Linked DNA regions of Homo sapiens: region 2 is linked to region 1. The links are contacts of gene promoters, found by promoter capture Hi-C in blood cells and fetal thymus (Javierre and others, 2016). All regions are on one chromosome and are shown on one strand. The core of a region is centred on a gene start or on the middle of the fragment in contact, and the rest is flanking DNA. Distances in the headings are between cores, read along the strand shown.

Region 1 (5,752 bases), core at 3,253-5,752:
GATCCTGTCTCAAAAAAAAAAAAAAAGTCATCGTGAAGATTAAATGAATTAATGTATGTAAAGCACCAAGAACATGGCCTGGATTGTTGAAAGTGATCAATAAGTGCCAGTGATTATTATTATTTTAACGTAATATTTTGAATCTTATGTTATGAAAATGCAAGTTTAAATCTGAACTATGTCTTTTTTTTTGAATTTGCTTTTTTTTGGCATTTTAAAATTCTATTCTAAATGTTAGGATTCTTTTTTTTTTTTTAATACTTTAAGTTTTAGGGTACATGTGCACAACGTGCAGGTTTGTTACATATGTATACATATGCCATGTTGCTGTGCTGCACCCATTAACTCATCATTTAGCATTAGGTATATCTCCTAATGCTATCCCTCCCCGCTCCCCCCACCCCACAACAGTCCCCAGTGTGTGATGTTCCCCTTCTTGTGTCCATGTGTTCTCATTGTTCAATTCCCACCTATGAGTGAGTGAACTATGTCTTATTCATAGGTGTACTATGTGATTTTATAGGTTCTGTGAGTAGAAGAACTTGCCAAAATATCCTTCTCCAAAACATCTTACAAATATACTCATCCATTACAATACCTGATAATCTGCCAGCAGAAATACATTAAGGCTTTGGGGGTTTTAGTTTCTGTATAAAATACTAATGCTTTAGGAAGAGAGTTCTCTCTTCCATTTTTTAGCCATAAGCCCCTTGTCATGGATTAGCTGACCACACCAGGAAGGGGAGATAAGGATTGAGCCAAGGAAACATAACATTGGACAGGTGAGAAAGAAGGTTCTAGCTTAGAGTATTATCTGTTTGGGGAGCAGGGGGAGGCCTCATGTGGAGTCTTCAGGGCCCTTTGGAAACTAGGGATAATTTTAGCCTTAAGAAGGGAAAAGAGAAGCTAGCCGAACAGGAGAGGAGCATGGAGGAGACACAATTGTTTACTTTATAGTATTGTTTAGGGTCAATCATGTTAATAAAAAGAATTGCTGAAATGGCTGAGAGTTGCAGTCAAGTCTGGAGGATTTTTTTTTTCTTTGAGACAGAGTCTTGCTCTGTCGCCCAGGCTAAAGTACAGTGGCATGATCTAGGCTTACTGCAACCTCTGTCTCCCAGGTTCAAGCAATTCTCGTGCCTCAACCTCCCGAGTAGCTGGGATTACAGGCGGGTGCCATAACGCTCGGCTAATTTTTGTATTTTTAGTAGAGGCAGGTTTTCGTCATGTTGGCCAGGCTGGTCTCAAACTCCTGACCTCAAGTGATCTGCCTGACTCAGCCTCCCAACGTGTTGGGATTACAGGTGTGAGCCACCACACTCAGCCAAGTGTGGATGATTTGGCTCACCCTATCTGAAAAATTTTAAGGTTATAAGCCCTGGAGCATTTTATATAAAATAATTATTGACATGAATATAGAAGAGAACATCCATATATATTTCCATTTTTTGTTTGAAGTTAAAGCTGACAACAGTCAGAATGCATGACTCTTTTGGGCTGCTGATTTCAAGCCTGCAACTGTTTCCTAGCAATGTAGGGGGCCTGTGCCAAGTCATTGAAGGTTATTGCTGGTAGGGTTTCTCCCTAGACAGGAAATAGTTCACTGGAGCTTTAGTGCAGAAACCAACACAGGTAGGTAAAATGTTTTTATAATTGCCACTAGGAAAAAGAGAGGGCCCAGGGGGTACTCTTCTGCCCAAGGGAACCTCTCCCTGGTTATAACCTAATTTGTTGTGTGTATGTGGACTAGATGGGTGGAATTCAACCTTCTAAGGTATTGTGGTTATATTGCTTTCAAATGACTGGCGATTCCAAGAAATGTAAGAAATCCTCTTTCTTTTTCAAAGGACCATTCTCTTGTGGTTCAAATGTGGGCTTTTGAAACAGAAACAATAATGTCTGTGGCTATAGGGTGGGGTCTGTTCATTTCCCTCTTTTCTCTATTGGAGTGTACATGAAGGTGTTGAAATTGTTGGCTTCATGTTTGTGTTTTGATAAAGATGGCTCTAAGGTAGCAGGATAGGGGACTAGAAGCTAACTAGTCATTGAAGAAGATCCTTGTTTTCCACAGAACAGTCTACCCTGGAGAACTGGCTGTTCCAATCTTCCTGTTACAGTCATTCAGAGCATTCATACATCTCTCTGTCCATGGTGCAATAAAATAGGCTATGGAACAATCTCAGGAGGCTTCCTAAGTGGTTGAAAGGAGGCAGGGCAAAAAAATTGTAGTATAGGCAAGAGGAAGGTAAAACTAACTAAAACGAACTTCGAAATGCAAGAAATAAACACAAGCATCATCTGAAATTGTTCCCTTAAGAAGTCAGCCCTAACAGTTTCTTATCTATTATAGCAGCTGAATTATCTTGAAACTGATATTGTGGTCAGAAAGTTAAGAAGATAACCCCTCTCCTACACTCTTGGCACAAAACCAGGGCATATCTATACCTGGAACATAATGTGTTGTACTGTTGGTTGAGTTTCAAGAAAAGTCCAATGAGGTTGGAAGCAGTTAATATGAGGATATCTGAAAAGATCAAGGAGATTAGGTATTCCCTACTCCTTCCATAAGGAGGTACTGAAATGGCAGAATTCTGCAATGAGAGATGGTGATCAGCAAGCCGAGGGGACAGGCCTCAGAAGAAACCAGACCTCCCCACACTTTGATCTCTGATCTTGGCCTTCAGAACTTCGAGAAAATAAGTTTCTGTTGTTTAAGCCACCCAGTTTGCAGTATTTTGTTATGGCAGCTCTAGCTGACTAACACACATGAGAACACATATGATCAAATGATTTAAAATTATGAAGGGTCTAGAAGAGAATGTGATCATCTCAGAATACCTCTAAGTCAGGGTTTCTTAAAGCAAGGTCTGCATACTACTTGCATCAGAATCACCTATGACGCTTTTTAAAAAGCAGGTTCTCAGGTCCACTGGACCTAGATTATTAAAATGTTCTGGTATGATGCTGAAGAATCTGTCTCTTTGGTAGACACTTCAAGTGTTGTTTTTGTACACTAAAGAGCCAGAGGTCCTGCCCAACCTCTGGCTCTTTTCTGAGCCTGAAAATGAATTCTGGGCCTGGTACTAATTGCATTTCATCAAGTGCTGCTGTGTCTGGTCCTCTGGCAGATGGTCCCTGATCCAGGAATCACGTGTAAATCCCATTGTAGGTTATCTCTCTCCAGGTGTCAGCCAACGTTTACGCAGCATGTGGGAAAGCTGAATTGCATGGACCAGATGGAATCCTTAGAGTTTATTCTTGATTGTGGAAATAAATATGTACCTCACCTATCTTACTGAAGAATATAATGACATATTTTGAATAATAAAGTATATATATTATCTCTCTCATGAGATTTATTTAAAGATCTTACTACCTTGTCAATAAAGAGAGAATGCAAGGAATAGAATGGGGCATATCTTTCCTTCACCTGTGGACCTAAGAGGAACTGAAATTAGAGAAAGTTGAGAGTCCAGAGCAAACGCTGTGATGAACATTTTCAAAATAGGCAGAATAGGTGGCATTCTGATTCAAATATGGCAGTTCCCTAGGGAGTGTGAAATCTGCCCTGCCCCATCCCCTCCATTTACAAATGTGCTTAAGGGACATAAGGTTTTATAAACAGGATTTTTAAAAACTAAAATTTAGGCAGATCATTTAAGAATGCTCAAGGGGGTAGGTCAATGGACTATTTCTCTATTTTCCTTCAGGTGGTCCAGCCTTTGAACCAGAATGCAGCTATAGTATCCCAAGTGACGGGGTCTGTCTAGGAGTTCCCATGGCCACTGTTTTTTGTCTTTTCGGTTTTTCTTTTTATGGCGGGCGGGGGAGGGCGGGCGGGTGAGTACTTACTTAATGCCAGGCACTTGGTTGTTTTTTCCTTCTTGACTAACCAGATTTCAGTTTCTCTGTGTAGACCATTCATTCCCACTGAGTTTCTTGGTGGGGTGGTGGGGGCGGGGGCGATGAATGGGAAAGTGGAATTGCCATTAATGTTCCAGCTGCTTTCCTGAAACAAGACTTTTGACCGTAAAAAGAATGAATTTGAAACTCTAGACAATAATACACTGCAGAGGTTAAGAAGAAAAGCCATGAGTGCAACCGGGTTTCATTAAGAATGAAAAGTGGACATTTAGCCGTCAAGGAGACAGGTTCCTAGTTTGGGCAGAGAAGAGAGCCCTAACAATGAAAGGCGGCCGTGTTGGCTGAAAGGGGGCTCTCAACTGAAACCAAGGCACTCCTGGGGTGTGAGGATGGGTGTTCATTCCTAGATCTTTCCGAGCGGCCCTTTCCCTCAGTATGTTCTGGACTCACTGAGGTCCTGGCCGAGCGTCCAGGTAGCCCCGAGGGCCCCGACTCGCTGGCGCAGGGGTAGGGGGAGCGGGCCAGGCGGGGCAAGCGGGCCAGGCAGCGGCGGCGGCGCTTTCATTAGAGGGCGCTGTGGGAGCGGCTCCGCCGCAGTCCCGACTCCCGCCGCTTCCTCCCGCCGCCCCTCCCCGCCAGTCCGGGCGAACGCGGCCGGGCCCTTGGGGACCGAGTCTCGGCGCCGCCGGGGAACGGGCGCGGGCCGCGCCACAGCCGGAGCGGGGCAGGGCCCCGCCACCGCCTTCTTCCGCCGGCCCCGCCGCCGGCCATGCATTCTTCCGGCTCCTCTGACTCCCAAAGCCCCGGCTGGGGCCCGGCCAGCCCGAGGTAACCTCCGGCTCCGCGGTCGCAGGCCCCAGAGCGGCAGCGGAGCCGGGCCAGGGGAGGCGCTGGGGGCGGGGAAGGGGGTGTCGTCGTCGCGTGGCCCGGGGAGGCGGCAGCGGCCTGAGGGACGAGGGCGCGGTAGGCCCCGGGGAGGAGGCGGGGGCGCGGGGCATCCGCCCGCCTCCCCGGGACCCGCCCGGGTGACAGGTCCGGCCTCTGAGTCCCCGCCGTCCCTCTGTCCGCAGGCAGCCGCGAGGGGAGTAGGGCGCCAGCGCGCCCGCTCGCGCAGCGCCTCGGGCCGCTTGGGCCGCCACCGCGTCCATGACCGCGACCCCTCGGCGGGGGACACCCGCCCCCGCTCTCCGCAGCCGCCCGCCGTCCGCGCCCGCCGAGGTGAGCCCGGCGCGCGGGCCGCGCCCGCCGCCACGACCCTTCCACATCCGCGGAAACCGCTGCAGGCTCCACCGGCTCCCCGCGCTGCGGTCGCCTCTTCTCTGCCCCTTTCATCATCCCCTGCTTCCTTGCCCTCTGGTCGGAAATCTCATTCTCTTCATCCCCAGTTCCTTGGCTTTTACCTCTTTCTGGCTTTTGCTCCCTTCCCCCTACTCCTGTCCTTCCTCTTTTTCGCATTATAACCCCCTACTTTCTTCCTCTCACCTTGTAAGCTTTTTTTCTAGGCCCCCCATTTTTTTTCTTAAAAAAAAAAGGGAAACAAAAACCCTATTGCTACAAATGAGAATTTTGAGGGTAACTCTTCGCTAGAGCCAGAGACCTTTTAAAGGAATGCATCGGTGTGCAGGAATCGTGGTGGTGAGGAGACTGAGGTCCTCAGTATCTGGGAAATCTTATTGAGGGGACCCTGTTTCGGTCATGTCACTTGTGTCTTCAGTTTGGAGATCCTGAGGTTGTCTGAAGCGAGTGGATCTATTTTTCTAAGTCCAATAGACGACCGCAGTGAGACACGGTGCGGGGACGGCCACCGATTACTGAATGGGAATTGTGTTATCATTTGCTAAATATATTGTGACATACTTCGTGCCTCGGTGAACAGCTCCCTTGACCT
Region 2 (6,487 bases), core at 775-3,274, 630 kb before region 1:
CCTCCACAGCAACTCAGGCCCCCACTCCATGGCTCCCCTGCACCATCCTCATGCCTGGTCAACTCTTGCTGCCAGTTGCTGTGAGACCCAGCTCACCACTGGGCAAACAGAGCTTGCAAAATGCAGCCCATGCTCACCATTCATGGATTCCATATGTACAAATTCACCTACCTGCGAAATTGTATCTGTAACCCCAAAATCAATACTGGCTGCACTTTTGGGGTCATTCTCGGACACACACAGAGTGGGGAAGAATGAGGGCTGCTCAACACGCACATTCCCAGCGGGGGTGGAACAAGGCCCGCTCAGCCTGCTGGCTTCAGCTCCCACAATGCAAACAAGTGTCCTTTTCGCAGGCTATTTGGTGCCACATTTTTCATGCTTTTGTGCTTTGTGTTGGTGATTTCACTGTTTAAAATGTCCCCTAAGCATATTCGAAGCAACCTGGATGAGACTGGAGACTATTATTCTAAGTGAAGTAACTCAGGAATGGAAAACCAAACATTGTCTGTTCTCACTCATAAGTGAGAGCTAAGCTATGAGGATGCAAAGGCATAAGAATGACACAATGGACTTTGGGGACTCAGGGAGAAAGAGTGGGAAGGGGGTGAGGGATAAAAGACTACAAACTGGGTTCAGTGTATGCTTCCCAGGTGATGAGTGCACCAAAATCTCACAAATCACCACTAAAGAACTGACTCATGTAACCAAATGCCACCTGTTCCCCAATAACCTATGAAAATAAAAAAAAAAATTAATGTCCCCCAAGCAGAGTGTTGGTGTTTGTTCCTAAGCACAAGAAGGCCGTGATGTCCCATACAGAGAAAACACGTGTATCAGACAAGCTTCTTTCAGACACAAGTTATGGTGCTGTTGACCATGAGTTCAGTGTCAATGAGTCAACCGTAGAGAGTAAAGAAGGTGTCTTTAATAGAAATACACATAAAACAAGGCTATGTACTGGTTGTAACCAGAGGCAGGCAGAAATCTAACCCTGTGTTTCCCCTAGGCGCAAAGGTTCAGTATCTGCTCATTCAGTGTTCACAGAGACTTTATAAAACATAACTACCATGAAGAATGAGAATTGACTCTACAGACACCTGTGCACCTGAGCCCACCTGGATTAGTGAGTCAGAATTCCCTGGGCTTAGGCCCTGGCACCTGAGTTTTTCAAAGTTTCACAGGCAATTCTGATGCTGGGCCTACATGGGAACCACCAAAGTCCAACCTCAGAACAGCCTGCGGGTCCCTGGACAGAGCCAGGTGACAACCTCAAAGCATAACTTTTAGCCACAACCGTGAGGTGGTGTGTAACACAGCGTTGTGTGGTGAGCATAGGGCTGACTCAGTGTTAGGGATCTGGAGACTCTGAGTGACCTCAGGCAAGTCATCTGACATTCAGAGCCTCAGTTTCCCCACCCACAACATGAGGATAACAACACCTGTGCACAGTGGGGTGTTTGCATAGGGGAGACTCAGACATGTCTTATGGGCTGGGACCCCAGGAGTACACTGGTGTGAGAGACTAAGGATGAGAAATAACTCATCCCAAGAGAAAGACTAGAGGTCTTGGTCTGAGAGTGATGAGCACCCCGCTGGGGAGGTCCAGGAGGAGGGACAGCTTGGAGGACCGCTTGGTGCTGGTCACTCAGGTCAGCCTCTAGCCTAGTCCTTGAAGGCTTGAGCCTAAGGAGACTACAGGGAAGGCTGCTCGCCCAAGAATCTTGGTGAGACCCAGGGAGCACACGGCCATGCAGCGTCAGAACTGACATGTGGCCCAGGGCAGATGCACGTGTCTCCCCTCCAAGGAGGGCGCCATGCACCACGGCAGTCCGGGACACTCTGTGGGGGAGGAAATCTTCACAGGCAGCATCCCTCCCTCTACCTGTGATGTAGCACCTTCTCGAGCTTTGGAGGCACTGAGGGCAGCTCCTGCAGATATCACCCCAGATCGCTGGAGTTGGGCAGGTGAGGAGTGAGCTCAGGTAGGATGCTTGCTGGGTCAAGCCCAAAAGGGAGGCCCAGAGGCCCTGCTCAGAGGCTGGGACAAGTGCAAAGCCTGAGAAAGACTGTAGTTCCTGTTTATGTGACCGGTTTCTACCCTAGACATGTATGGCTGGGGAGTGGGGGTCAGAATCAGCCACCTGTCAGCCCTGAGTGGCTGATTTCCACCTGATACTTTTAATAGCTGTGCTGATCACTATCGAAGAGTTTTAAAATGGTGCAGAGAGAGCCAAACACAGGAGCATTTTTTATCAGTCCTTTCAGACACAGCCCTGGCAGAAAAGGCAGAATTGACAGCAGGCTCTGAACTCCCACTGGTGGGCCTGGGTCCCACTGCCTCCCTCTACAAACCAGAACCAGGTGAGACCTATGGGTCTGCACAGCACTGACAAATTCCCCCAGTGAGCTAGTCCTGGCAGAAGAGGTGTGCCCGGGGCATCACGGTTCTCTCAGAAGCCTGATCTGTGCTGTATGCCAGCCATTGTTTACCCTCCCGGCCTGCCTTTCTGTCAACACTTATATTTTGCACAATGTTTCTTTGTTTGCTTTGGGTTGAGAAACTGTATTTTTTTCTTATTCACAATAGCCAAGATAGGGAAACAACCCAAATGTCCATCAACAGATGAATAGATAAAGAAAATGTGACAAATACATACAATGGAATATTATTCAGCCTTAAAAAAGAAGGAAATCCTGCCAATTGCAACAGCATGAGGAACCAAGAGGGTTTTATACTAAGTGAAAAAAGCCAGACACGGAACGACAAATACTGCATGATTCCACTTAAATGGGTATCTAAAATAGTCAGACTCATAGAAGCAGAGAATAGAAGGGCAGTTTCCAGGGGCTGGGGGAAGGGGAAATGGAGAAATGTTGCTCAATGGGTATAAAGTTTAGTTATGCGAGATGAGTAAGTTCTGGAGATGTGCTGTACAACATGGTGCCTGTAGATAACGATACAGAATTGCACCCTTTAAAATATGTTGAGAGGATAGATCTCATGTTTAGTGTTCCTACTACCAAAAAAACAAACCAAAACACAAAAGAACACAAGGAAATTTTTGGAGGCGATAGAGATGTTTAGTACCTAAATTTTGGTGATGGTATCACAGGTGTATGCATATGTCCAAACTCATCAAGATGTACTCTTTATATGTATGTGATTTTTTTGTGTATCTATTATACCTCAGTAAAGCTTTATAAATGATCAAAACAAAACTGTGTTCCCCCCACACACACCACCCCAATACAAACACAGAAGAGCTAGGCAAAAGGAAACTCTATAATGGCAGGGAACTGCTCTGATCCTGCCTGGTGGGCCACCTGCTTTGTGGAAGTTTTCACATCTAGTGTTCATTATTCTTTCTTCTGAGACTGTCTTCCTAGCCCCTCCCCTCCTCCCCCTCAGCCACACCCCCATCAGCCAGAGCTGCTCAGTCAGTCCTCGAGGAGGGCCATACATGTGTTCAGGGCTCCCAGCACTTCCTGCCACATAGCAGGTCCTCTGTGGATGTTGGGTTCCTTGTCTTTTCTTTTCTTTCTTGGGTTCACCTTGCAAAGGAGAACCAGTCAAAGACTCAGTCAAGTTACTTCAAGGAAAACAGATTTTCTCCATGAGAAAGACACTAATGGGGAAGGAAACAGAAACCCACGGCATCTGAGGCAGCAACCTTCTCTGTACCCTCTCCCAACGGCCCCAAGGTCTCCCACTCGAGTTTCTCTCCTCCCTCGGCCCAGCTTCTCCATCAGTTCTGCTCACACTTGGTGAGGGAGGGTGGGCATGGAGAAGGCCATGGCCTCTCCTCCTGGGAGCATTTTGAGACCAGGCCAGGCCACAGCTAAGGTGCAGATCAGCAGGGAGGCAGAGAGGGAGGCGTGTGCTAAGATGACTGGAACTGAGATGGCACCTGTCCTTTCTTCCTGAGATGTGGAGGCCCGCAGAGAGAAGAGCTGAGAACAGAATTACTGGCCTCTCCAAGGATAAGCCAGCCCTTCTTTCTCAGAGTAGAGCAGTTACTAACCACCGAGGGGTTAGACAACTGCTTTTGATCTCCCCAGGGCTCAGAAGGGCACAAAAGGCCCCCCACAGTCCAGGAAACTCATGTTAGGGGTTGGGACCCCTTAACACTAATGTCAGAGATGCTAAGAAGGTATCATGGAGGAAGCACTACCACCCCAAGGACGAGGCAGCAAAGGGGTGCATTTGGAATGATTAAAACTTAGAGACAGGAGCACCTTGTGGGGCTGGAACCAGACATCTGGTGAGGTGGGGGGTGCCTGCCGGCTGGTGTTGGCCTCTGAATTAGGGGTGAAGTTAGTTCTACAAGTGTTAGAAAGATTGTAAACTGAATTTAGCTGCTGCTATGGTAAGGAACTGCTGCTGCCGGGGTGAAGAAGTACTACCGGAGCCGCTTACAAGAACAGAAGTAAACAAGAAAAAGAGGGCTTCCCTCCAGCTTTCCAGTGTCCTTCTAGCACCCCCTACTGGCTGAATCCGATAGGAAGCAGCTGCCAAAGCCAAAAGTGGTTTGCCAAGTCCCAGCCCTACCATCAAAGAAGAGAGAATAGAAGAAGGACTAGAGTGACCAGGAGCTGAAGCCTGAGCCTGCTCTCATGCACACATGTGTGCACGCACACTTGCCTATGCTCACAGGTATACACCTACACATGGACCACAAGCGCCCTCTCCACAGATTTGATTGTGGGTCCTACGCTTTGGGTGTCACGCAAAGTCAGCAAACCTCAAGGCCTTGACTACAGAGACTTTTCTGATTCTGAAACTCCGGCCTCAAACATCACCCATCATCGTCCCATCCCCAAACAGCCACCAGTTTGAGTCCTTTCTGTAAAAAGGAAGCTCAGAGTTCTCCATCTCTGGAGAGATACCTGGGCTTTCAGGGAGAAAATGTCAACAGCAGCCACCCCATGTCTCCTGGAGGGGACTCCAGTAGAGGCCCAGGGAAAAGCAAGCTCTGCACCAAACTGCCCAGTGTGTAGTGAACACAACAGAGCTCATTTACCAACAGGAGGCACACACTAAACACATTCTTCTGGTCTCTGCTTAATCCCAGCTCATTCTGTCTTATTAGGTCCCTCTGCTCTCCTATTGTTTTCCACCACTGTGCATTGCTGTGTCGTTCAGAGCATGTGTCACAGTGTGCTTTTTTTTTTTCCAAAATGTGCTGTCTGTCTATCTCCTCCTCTAGATTGCCAACTCACAAGAGTGGGGCCATGCCAGCTTCTTCCACCCCTGCAGACTCAGGGCCTGGCACATCATAAGTCTCAAGTGTTTGTCAAATGAATCTATTAAAAAATAGAAAATGGCTCTAGAGGCATTGAGATAAATGGACAGGTGATGGATCTGTAGATTGGGGTGTATGCGACATAACGAACTCTGAGGAATGTTGTGGAAGGCAATTGCTCTCCTGTCCTACAAACCATCTCCAGATAAAGAGGACAGCAGGCAGGATGACTGCTCTGCCATCATGGTGTTTCTGCTGTGCTTGTGACTCTGTTCAGCCCTGTACATCCATGGAGATTAGGGCCTGAACCCAGGCTTCTCCCCTCATCCCAACTTCACCTCTGCTTCTTGGAAGGCATGGGGCTCATTGAGTGTTATAGCTGGTGGGACCCTATAGATTACAAAGGTGGCTCCACATCACCATCACCTGGGGAACATTTAAAAACATCAGTGTCTGGACACTACCACTAGTTTCCGATTCTTTGAGTTCCACAGTTCAGTGTAGCATAGTGGATGCCCAGAAACATGAACTCAAGTCCTAACTCTGCCACATACTGTATGATCTTGGCCAAGTTACTTGACTTCTCTCTGCCTCGATTTCTGGAGATGACAGCAGTATCAATCTCACAGGCTTGTTGTGAGGATCAAAGTCAACAATGTATGTGAAGCTCTTGGTGCAATGTCTGGCTCAGAGTAAATACTGAATAAAATGTAGCTATTATTGAAATTATTATCTCACAGCTACTTAGCGGCTGGCGTGGGATGAGCCTCCTGATCCTGGATCCAGTGTTCTTTCCAACACGTCACTCTGAATGTGCACACAGCCTGAGGTCAGACTCGGCAAGGCAAACATATAGTTGCTCTCCCTGGGACCCTTTAATTAAACCGTATGGAACAGAGAACTGCCCCTGAGAACCAACAGCAGATCTGACCCCTGGGAAGCAGAGAGCTGGAGAACACAGGAGTTCGGCAGTGCAGCTTTCAGGTCCTTTGGGAAGCCATTTGGCTGCTTCTGTTAGCATTTCATTATGGAAATACTGGGAACCAAAAATAGAAGTTCTTGAGGGAGCTTAATCCTCTGGGCTTTACAAAACAGCTGCTGGAGAGTTCCCGGAATTGACCACCAGGGGGCACTGTCGTCCCATGCAGGCAGCTGCTGGTGGGTCGGACCAGGACAGAAGTGTCCAAGAAAAAACCAACACCCTTCAGCAAGCTCCTACCCCAAGCCTGCCTTGCTGGGGA

What was found. The method cuts DNA at HindIII sites, captures the fragments that hold promoters and counts their contacts. A CHiCAGO score of 5 or more calls a contact.
Region 2: a fragment that was not itself captured here is called in contact with the fragment with the promoter of LPGAT1 in region 1 in 1 of 17 cell types (fetal thymus); the score reaches 6.1 in fetal thymus.

What each region holds. Positions count from the first base shown.
Region 1 is chr1:211,829,513-211,835,264 of GRCh38, reverse strand. It overlaps LPGAT1 (lysophosphatidylglycerol acyltransferase 1), which reads left to right and starts at 4,502. Exons shown (of 8, transcript NM_014873.3): 1 at 4,502-4,692. LPGAT1-AS1 (LPGAT1 antisense RNA 1) reads right to left here and starts at 4,304. Exons shown (of 6, transcript NR_135820.1): 1 at 4,225-4,304; 2 at 3,853-4,009. RefSeq lists a silencer at 4,318-5,077. The HindIII fragment of the contact is 5,763 bases long and covers 1-5,356 here.
Region 2 is chr1:212,455,946-212,462,432 of GRCh38, reverse strand. It overlaps LOC124904506 (a long non-coding RNA gene), which reads left to right. Exons shown (of 2, transcript XR_007066870.1): 2 at 1-768. Among named protein-coding and RNA genes, the nearest start is that of LINC02771, 14 kb to the left of the region's middle. RefSeq lists enhancers at 1-441, 1,237-1,406. The HindIII fragment of the contact is 2,354 bases long and covers 848-3,201 here.